2 separate regions of the Homo sapiens genome follow, and region 2 is linked to region 1. The links are contacts of gene promoters, found by promoter capture Hi-C in human tissues and cell types (Jung and others, 2019). All regions are on one chromosome and are shown on one strand. The core of a region is centred on a gene start or on the middle of the fragment in contact, and the rest is flanking DNA. Distances in the headings are between cores, read along the strand shown.

Evidence for each region. The method cuts DNA at HindIII sites, captures the fragments that hold promoters and counts their contacts. A contact is called where the count stands out against the background at its distance.
Region 2: a contact is called between a fragment that was not itself captured here and the fragment with the promoter of CACHD1 in region 1, in 2 of the 25 tissues and cell types used here (bladder and neural progenitor cells).

Annotation. Positions count from the first base shown.
Region 1 is chr1:64,467,865-64,472,930 of GRCh38, forward strand. CACHD1 (cache domain containing 1) reads left to right here and starts at 2,265. Exons shown (of 27, transcript NM_020925.4): 1 at 2,265-3,078. The coding sequence starts at 2,881. It overlaps LOC107984966 (a long non-coding RNA gene), which reads right to left and starts at 2,161. Exons shown (of 2, transcript XR_001738100.2): 1 at 1,322-2,161; 2 at 409-506. RefSeq lists a silencer at 2,475-2,594 and an enhancer at 4,394-5,066. The HindIII fragment of the contact is 8,534 bases long and covers 1-5,066 here.
Region 2 is chr1:64,688,086-64,693,151 of GRCh38, forward strand. CACHD1 (cache domain containing 1) reads left to right here. Exons shown (of 27, transcript NM_020925.4): 27 at 3,238-4,968. The coding sequence ends at 3,476. Among named protein-coding and RNA genes, the nearest start is that of RAVER2, 54 kb to the right of the region's middle. The HindIII fragment of the contact is 8,353 bases long and covers 1-5,066 here.

The sequences.
Region 1 (5,066 bases), core at 1,015-3,514:
GTTTGTTAAGTTTACTTATCTGTGATGGGGCATCAGAAATGTTTAGATTAGTGAATGACAAGTTGAGATTTGACTTTTAGAAAGTTGATTTTGACTTCCATGTGAAGAACAGAATGAGGGGGAACAGAGAGACTGCACAGAGACCCATGAGGAGACTGGTCATAATACAGGCAAGCTGCAATGAGGAACTGAAGTCAGGCCATAGGATGCAGATGGACAGCGGGGGATGGACACGGGAGATATGTTGGGAGCTGGGGTGGATGGAGAGTGCGTACCTAGCTTGCAGAGTGGGTGACATCCACCTAGATTTGCAGCCAGACATGGATTTAGGTGGAACATGGGGGAAAGCAGTAATGAGTTTTCATTCAGGTATATCTACTAGAGAAGTCAGGAACTTGCTAGAAAAAATGGAGATCCAGGTTGAGCTTTATTTAGAAGTATGATAAACTCGTGTTTGGTAATAATTGAAGGCATAGATGTGGTCGAGAGTCCTCAAAAAGAAGAACCTTAGAGTGAAAAAAAGGTGACATTGGATTAGCATCCCAAGAAATAGGACCTCAAGAAATACCAACATATAAAAGATGGGCAATAAATGCCTATTGTGAAGGCATTTCAGAAGGAGTTTAGAGATGTGTGACACCTTGGTGATGGTAACCTTGAAGAATCAAATAAAAAAATAATGCTATATGTCATTATTATTTTTGTTCTTTACTCTTCCACTAATCACATGGACTAATATGCTTTCTCTTGCGGAGTGTCATGTCAAAGGTACAACAATTTAAAAAACGGAAGTTAAAGGATCATCTTTCTAACAAATGTCAGCTCAACTCCAGGAATAGAAGACATACAGGTAGGTTTTTACCTCATTATTAACTCAAGAATCATTTTTCCAGTACTACTATGTGCTTGTGTGGATGATGTGGAGGTGAAGGGATTGGTCCCCACACTCAACATGCTTGCCTTAGTATGTAAAACAAACATCACAGGCTAGGCGCAGTGGCTCATGCCTGTAATCTCAGCACTTTGGGAGGCCGAGGCAGGTGGATCACCTGAGGTCAGGAGTTTGAAACCAGCCTGGCCAACATGGCGAAACCCTGTCTCTACTAAAAATACAAAAATTAGCAGGGGAGTTGAGAATGGAGAAGTGATCTCAATGAGGTAAAAATGGGCCAGGGAGAGCTTACAAGAGAAGATGACTTTTTAATACAATATAGTCAAAGATGTAAAACAGAAGGTTTTGCTGTAAAATGAAAAGAGTCCTAAATCCAGGTTCTAATCCTGCTACCACCTCTGCTAGGTAACCCTGGACTAGTCCTTTAACCTTCCAGTGTTGGCTCTGTTCTCCAGGAACCTGCAAGCAGCAACCACACAGGGCTTGGAAGGGAGAGTGGCTGTTCTCCACACACAGCAGGTTGACTTGTTCCAGGTGCTTCCAACAGGTGATTTCTCAGCGAGCCTGAGCCAGTAGTCAGGGACAAACAGGAAGGTTAACCTTGCCTCTCCATGCTTGGGAGAACAGGTGTGTGCGCGGTGGACTCCGGTTCAGTCGTTCTTTTTCTTTTTTCTTGCTTTTGATGGGATCAGATGGTTCATTTCCAAAGAGAGACAGAGAGAACTGTATCGTATTTAGGAGCAATAGCCTTGGAGTAAGACTTGTGCTTAAACTCTGGATTTGTTTCTTATCCCCTGGGTGACCTCTGGCAATTTATTCCACCTCTCTAAGCCTCAGTCTTTGTTACCTAAAAAATTGGGATAAAGATACGTACCTCCTATGGCATGTCGCGGAGATTAAAGGATAATGTGCACACCCCCGAGCCCAGTGCCGGGCACACGGTGGCTGGTTGCAACAGAAATCTGTGGGTGGAACGCTAGCTAGCCATTGTGATGAATAACATCAAGGAGAGGGAGTGGACCTACACATGGCAGTCCCCTTCTTCCCCAACCGCTGCCAGGCAGACAGCCAGCGTCCTAGAACTTAAAGGACTTTTCGATGGCTGGAACCTGGGCCGGGTGGGCTCCCTGGCGCGGACGGAGGCGGGGAGCGCTGGCGGGGGTCTCCGTCTCCAGCCACGGGAAGGTCCGTGGGCTCCCCTGCCCGGGCTGGGCCGGTCCCCGAGCAGAGAGAGAGGCTGGTCCCCCGGCCCCCGGCGTCCCGGGGGGCAGGTTCTGAGGCGGGAGCCAGGGAGAGAGAGGAGGGGCAACCGGGGGAATTTCCCCGCCTCTCTTGCTGGTTCCATAAATCACCGCAGCCGCCGCGGCGGCCCAGCCGGGAAGTGCACAGAGCCGGAGCGCAGCGTGGTGGCACCAGACGCCTCCCTTTCCCCACCGCTTGCTTTCTTTCTTTCAGTTGTGTGGGTTTGTGAAGCCTCCCCTTTCCCTCCTCGCTCGGGTGGCTGCCCCAGTCTCGCAGCCCGGCCGCCGCTCCTCTTCCCCGGGGGCCGCCGTCAGTCCTCGCCGCCGCCTGCTCGCTGCGCTGGGACTCGCAGGAAGCGAGAGCCGCGCGGCTCGGCTCGGGCTCCGACTCCGACTCCGATTCCGACTGTCAGCCCCGGGGCCCGCGCACCCCGGCCTGCGGGCGCCCCTGCTCTCGGAGACGCCCTCTGCGCCGCGGGGCCCGTGTGGGCGCCGGGCTCCGGGGACCGCTCGGGCGGCCGCCTCCTACCCCCACCGCCGCGGAGCCCCGCGATGGTGGCCGCCCGCGCTCCCGCGCTGTAGCCGGGCGCCCCCTAAGTTTGGGAGCCTTCGCCACCGCGGCGCGGAGCAGAGCCTGCAACAGAGGAAGAAACTTTTGCGGGGTGCGCCGCGCTTTTGCGGGGGGCACCTCCCGCGGCCCGCTTCCCCGCGCCCGGAGCCCGTCGGCGGGGAGTGGGGGGAGGCAGCATGGCCCGCCAGCCGGAGGAAGAGGAGACGGCCGTGGCCCGGGCGCGGCGGCCGCCCCTCTGGCTGCTCTGCCTGGTCGCGTGCTGGCTCCTGGGCGCCGGGGCCGAAGCCGACTTCTCCATCCTGGACGAGGCGCAAGTGCTGGCGAGCCAGATGCGGAGGCTGGCGGCCGAGGAGCTGGGGGTCGTCACCATGCAGGTAAGTGGCCCCCGAGCTGGCCAGACATCCCGCCTTTCTCCTTTGCTCAAACTCCCATCCCACTCCCGGTACAAGTCCCCTGGACTGTGTGCATCGGCTCCTTGCATACATAGAGCCCGGCTTCCCGTCGGACCCCTCTGTCCTCTGCACAGACCCCCTGACAATACACCAACTCTTCTTCCATGCATTCGTCTACCCCTGCCCTTCTCTGGAGAATCCCCTGCCCTCTGCACGGAACCCACTTGACCCTGCACAGCCCCCCTCTTCTGAGTACCAGCGCCTTCATCTCGTCAAGGATTCTCCAGTTTCCTCGCACGTCTTCTCTAATTTGCACACATTTCCCATGTAGGCTTGTTTTCACCCTGCCACGCCTGCAAACTCCCCCTTTGTGTCCCCATCCCAGAGCAGCCAGCCCCGTCTGGCTCGGACGATTTTCCGAAGTCCCCACCCCACCCCCTTGACCGCGTCCTCGCGTCCTCGCGTCCTCCCTACCGAGGCGCACCAATGGGCGCCGGGAGGGAAGGCGCCGCAGAGTACGCAGCTGCCCCGGGGACACCTAGGTCCCGGCGGAGAGCGGCCCTCCGAGTGGGCTCCGCGCTCCTTTCCCCTCCCGGGAGCATGGGGGGAGGGGCTGGCCTGGTAGATTCTGGGTAGACTCCCGACTCTAATCCTGCTGGGGGACTCTTTTTGTTGCTTTCCGCATATCCTGCTGTAGTTTGCGTGCTGTCTGCTGTATGATTTTTGTTTCGTGTGTGCCTTTTTGGGTCGAAGAAAAAGGGAGCAAAGTGAATAAGGTTCCCATTTCTCCAGATTGTTTATCATGTCCGTCCTCCTCGGGAGAGGAAGGAGGGCTGACAGAAAAACTGCCCGCAGCTAGTAAGGAATCCTGATGATGTTACTCACGACCAACAGTAGTAAAAATTGCTGAACACCAACCACCTGGAGATTCTGCCCCGCTGTTATTTTAATCCACTTGGCCATAAAGGCCCACTAGATTAGGAGAGGTTGAGATGACATTCCCAGCTTGAAACCTTTGCTATAACATTCTTAGATAAAATAACACCATTCTCTTACACATTCTAACAATCATGGGGATGAATGTGGTCTTCGAAAGATTGAAGTTTCCAAGAATGCGTTCTTGGAATAGGTTTCTGATTTCCATCCTACTGTGACCACTCCTTCCACCTCCCACCGGGAGAGGTGTTTAAGTCACTTTTGGGATTTAGGTTTCTTACTTCTTTCTTCTTCGTCGCGTCGTCCTCCTCGTCTTCTCCTTCTCTTCTTTCTTCCTTCTTCTTCCTCCTCCTCCTCCTTCTCGTTCTTCTCCTCCTCTTTCTTTTCTTTTTCCTTCTTCCTTCCTCTTCTTTCCACTTCCCCACACCAATCTCCTCCCAAGAGGTTACAATTTTCTTGAGGAAAGTTCCACAGACCTTCTCTACTGTGGGGAAAGACCACCGGAATTTTTTAAAGGGTGACATGAGGACTGAGGAGTGGATGGATTTTGAAAGGTAATTTTGCATTTATTTGCAGACACCCAGCCCTGAAGTGCAATGGAGTTGGGTTTTCTTGATTTGCATAATAATAGATAAGCTTTTAAGATGCATCATTCAACTATGCCGATCTTTCAGGTTCAGATTCAGTTGCAATTTTTTCCATATGCATTTTCTGATTTCTGATTATTGCTGAGTTCTTAGGAGTGAAGTGACTTTTAGAAAAGATAGAAAACTAGGATTAAAAAAACAGTGGTGAATATTTCCATTCAGAGCACAATTGTATTTTTGCATTGAGGCACCTCTTTTAATAAAGGAAACTTAATATATTGGAGTTGTGGACTCTGCTTGTAGGATTTGTAGGCACTTGCCACCTTCACTCCATCCCTAGGGCTGGACAAGAAATCTTAGGATTCCCCCCTATCCCGCCCCCCCACGCCTTTTCCTTGTAAGCTAAGGACTTGCTTTTTCTAAGATGCTGACAGCCATTTTACTGTT
Region 2 (5,066 bases), core at 1,093-3,592, 220 kb after region 1:
AGCAAGATGAGGAAGGTGGGAGGGTGAGCCAAGCAGAAGGGCCACCATGAATCTAACACCTCGAATGCTAACATGAATTATCAGTTAGTGTGTGGGTGCTTGTAAATGAGCAGAGACGGGAAGCTATCCAGGAAGTGTTTGAATAATCACTGGGATTTTGCTAAAATCCTGTTTTCTACTTTAATCCTTTACATGTATAGCATAAGGTGGTTTTAATATGCACAGCAGTTTGTGACTTAGATTCTGGAGCCTAGCACCCAATCTAACACTCCAGACTTAGCACTGCTAAAGCTGAGAAACCTATTCTGGCTCCTGGTCTCTTAATCCTGGGTAAGGGCATCACTATTTGCTCAGTATCTGAACCTAGAAACCTCGACCTTTTCCAAGGATGTCAGCTCCCTGGCATCTTCACCAGGCAAGTCCATTTGGTCACCAAATCCAGCCTACTGTGCACTTGAACAGTCCACACACTGCGACTGCCCTACTTTATGTCCTTGCCATCTCCTCGAGGCCCATGCTCCAGCACCCTGTCCTCTGAGCCTCTGATCCCACCTTCCTTCTGTCCAGCCTCCCCATTGCCCCCTGACCACTCCCACTGTCCACTACTAGATCATAGCTCATAGCTTCAGCCAGCCTTCTTGACCTGGTCTTAGCCTATCTGTCCAGTGCCATCTCCCACCGCCCCAACCCCCAGCACCAAGCTTTCACCATTCCCAGAAGCCACCAGAGCCCTTCCAGCTGTTGTACCATTGCATGTGCTTGGGCCCTGCTGGAGGTACCTTTACACCCCTGTCTTTACCTACTTAGCCCCTTTTCTCCCATCAGGTCTACCCAATTGTCACCTCAAGGATCTAAGCCAAGTCCATTGGCTTTGGAATTCCTTTTGTGTGCCTCTGTTTTAGCACATGGGTGTTTCCCCTTCTTGCCCTAAGGTAGGCCTCTCAGGAGCTGAGGCCTCACCTTAGCCCTTTCCTGTCCAGCCTCTAGCCTGGCACCTGGCACCAAGAAGGCACTCAGTCATGGTGGACACACATGTCTCCCATCCAAGTACTAACCAGGCCCGACCATGCTTATGGTGGACACATATGTCAGTGAACACTTCCTCTTCTGCCCTGAATTTGCAGATGACACTTCTGAGATTCTGGCTAGACATCTCCACATATGTGACCAACAGAGTCTCAAAATCAAGCTGTGCATAAACAAAATGTGTCTTCTTTCCTGAGACTCAATCTGTGAGTTGTCCTTTCTTATCCTTATAACTTGAAGTTGTAGTCACCTTTCACTACTCCTCACCCCCACAGTCCCCCACATCTGATGACTTACCAATTTCTCTTGCCTCCACCACTGAGATAGCTTTTAAATCTGTCCAATCCCACTGCCCTAGTTTAATTCTCTATCCCTCACGCGGGCTGTTGAAATAACCTCCTAACTGCTCCCTGTCTTTCCTTTCGCTTCATCTCCCAAACCACCATCCTCTAAACACAAATGATCATGCCATTTTTTGGCCTGCTCAGTATCTTGTGTGGTCTCTCCATTTGCTACTCTTCGGCACGGGCTTTATGATTTGACTTAACTTCATGCCTCCCACCTGCCCTACCCTCCAGCTACCTGCTAGCACTCATCCAAGCCACATGGAACAGGGATGGCCTTTATATCCACACCTCTATGGCTGTGGTCATCCTGTTCCTTTCTTTATATCCACTTATCAAACTCCTACTCATCCACTTAAGCCCAACTAAAATATACATTCTCTGAAGATTCCTTATTCCCCCAGGCAGAATTAGATATTCCCTCTTCTGGATTTTAATTATACCTCAGTTATAGCACTTACCATTATCTGTGTAAAAGGAGGCTTTGTTTTGTGAGCATCTGTCTCAAACTCAACTGTAAAATCATTAGGGAAAGATGACGTCTCTTATTCGTGTTTCCTCTTCTCCCGCTCCAGCCCCATAATGGTCTCCAATAAATGAATAAGTGAATGACCAATGCTGATATTTGTTTCATTTCTCAAACATTAGCTTTTGAGCTCCCTATGCAGGGACCAGGCTTTCATCTTTATATGTCTTCCAGTGCCCAACACAGTGACTTGTATATTATAGGTACGCAGTAAATATTTGTTAAGTTGGACTGACAGCTAAATAATTCTATCATTTGAGTAATGTTTCATTGAGGACAGAATTTTTGCACAGAGCATACAATTTCAACCACCAATGACTCCTGCTTGGCTGCATGCAAGAACATCAATTTTGCAGCCATGAATGTGACTAGCATTACCCACGGGTAAGTGCTGATTGACGCTAACTGTAGATGCAATGGAAATATTAATGAGCTGTTGCTTCTTAAAATGTTTAAAGGAGATTTTTGCAATATTTAAAAACATGCCAGGAATCTCAGAATGGAATCCTTTGATCAGCAAGGGCATTTGCCTTTGAAACATGTATTACTTAGAATACCAAAAGAAATTAAATTTAAATGGGGTGGGGGGCAGCTAACACAGAGAATAGCTGATTGCACAGCTAGTTGCCCTGGGTATATGTGGAGTTAGTGTTTCATTAGGCACTAGAACTTTGGGCAAATTCCTTAACCTCTCTGATCATCATTTCCCTGAATTGTAAAATGTATATTAAAATATATCACCATTGGTGTGCAAGAATTGCCTGACACAAGTGCCTGCTACCAAGCAAGCACGCAGGTGATGGTGATGGTTCTTTTTGTTCTATTGTGGCGTCACATTCAGGCATTCAGGCGGAAGCCCAGATTTCCGCACCAGCCCCAGTTGATCTGAATCCTGTTCAGATCTTCTTCTTGAAGCTGTCCATTTTTTGGATTTCTTTAATAAAAAAGATTATCTTTATCATAGGTAAAAGTGTAGAAAGATAGGTCCCCAGTGGTGGCTCGCCATGGATGATGGGATGTAGTGTGATTTTCATTTTTGTGTTGCTGGTTTGGGGATTTGGGATAAGGGTTCTTGTTTATTTTTTTTTTCTCCTCTGTACTTTCTCAGCTGTCTGAAGTGGTTATGTATTTATTGTGTCATTGTTTTTTAAGGGAAAAAAAGAGTTATCACTAAATCTCTTTAAAAATAAATTACTTTAGCATCTGCTGACAGTCTGCCAGTGTTTGCACCTATGTATTGCAAAGACAGGAATACCTCCCAGTGCCCTAGAAATTGTAGGTGAAATCTTCTGTCTGCGTCTTGAAGCTCTCAGCTGTGTGTTTGTTTTGTTCTTTTTCTAGGTTACAGCACCATGAGCCCACAGGAGGACAGTGAAAATCCTCCATGCAACAATGACCCCTTGTCAGCCGGGGTCGATGTGGGAAACCATGATGAGGACTTAGACCTGGATACCCCCCCTCAGACTGCTGCCCTACTAAGTCACAAGTTCCACCACTACCGGTCACACCACCCTACACTTCATCATAGCCACCACTTACAGGCGGCCGTCACGGTACACACTGTCGATGCAGAATGCTAACAATCTCCTCACCTCCACGCCAAGATGAGATCTGGGAGCTACAGAATGTTCTGGAAAGAAAAAGAACCGGCTTAAAACCCACAGCAAGAGACCTCCCTTGTGTTTGTGCTTTGTGCAGAGTTGTTTGAGTCATTTCCTGCCTGTCGACATGGTTAAAAACGAGAGAAACAACAACACAGTCACATTTGTGAAGATGTGAGGCTGGTTCTGAAATGGAGGGGAAATAAGCCTGATGAACAGACCTGCCATAACACTAATGGAAGGTAACAGAAGGCGAACCTCCAAACACAGAGACGGAACCTGCAAGTGAAGCTGAGCCAGAGGAATGTTCCAAAGAGCCAGAAGCATTCAGCTCTCCTTAACTGGAAGAGAGAAAAATCTGCTCACCCAGAGACTGGAATGTGGCACATGCAGATACAAATGTGTGCATTGAAGATTTCGCTTTGTTTCTTAGCGGTACCTGGATACCACAGTTGCTGTATGGAACTCATGTTATGCTCTAAACGATGCATCTCAGAATTTCTAAGTAAAGGATTATTTTTCTACTATTTATTGAACTTTCAAACATTCTCAAACTTTGGGGAAAAGGAAAGGAAACACAGGAGAAGTTTTCAGCAGTTGCCCCGAGCTGTTTTGTGTGTAATGAAGTGGTTCTTTGATTAAGGAGCTCTATTTCTTATTTAACTGATATCCCACTGCCCCACTCCACAAAATAGGAAAATGAAGAAATCTTTCTCTCTGACTTGTTTACATCATTTCACGGAAACACATCTTTGTTTGTAATGCAGTATTCTTTCTCTGTGTTTGACAGAGATGGGGAGGGGCAGAGGAATTTAAGAGGTTTTAAAAGAAATGTTATGTTTCTTATGACTTGTTTCCACTCCTCGTACAATGCTATTCTTAGGTTTCTACGAAACCTAATGTTAGAACCGCATCCTTTCAGCTAAGGGAGGGTTGGATTTATTTTCCTTGTTTTAGAGACTACAAATTTTTAAATATCCCATTTTGACTGAGAATATTGACATATAAGGGAAGAAGTTTTCTAAATTGTGAAAGTCTGGTTCTTAATTAAAGAATTTTTTTTTTAATATCACGGTTAAAAGCTGCTGCCAGTTAGCCAAGACATTATCCACCAAATTGCTTTGTGATTTATACAGGGATTAATCAAATCTGGCTACTATAACATGGGGCATTGTAACTTTAAAGTAGTGTTTTAATTACAGTGATGTATTTTAGACTCACATTTTGTGATTCAAATATGTTATAAAGGCATTCTTGCACCATGGTAAAGAATGTGTGTGGTAAATCTCCGTTTATATGTAGTTGGAAAAAATTCACTGAATAATGTTTTAATGATAGGGTATTATGATACAATGTAAAAAACAATTGGTTCTTCAGCAGTACAGAAAGTAAACTATATATGTGCTATCAGGAAACCCCTTCATACTGTGTATAAAATTGCAATCTAGTGAAATAAACCGTATGCAATGGACCATTTTAGTGGCTACAGTGATTTGTTAATGTACCACTCCTTGTGCCTCAAGGCAAGTTACATTCATTTTGTAACCTAGCCAGGTCAGTTGCCAAACT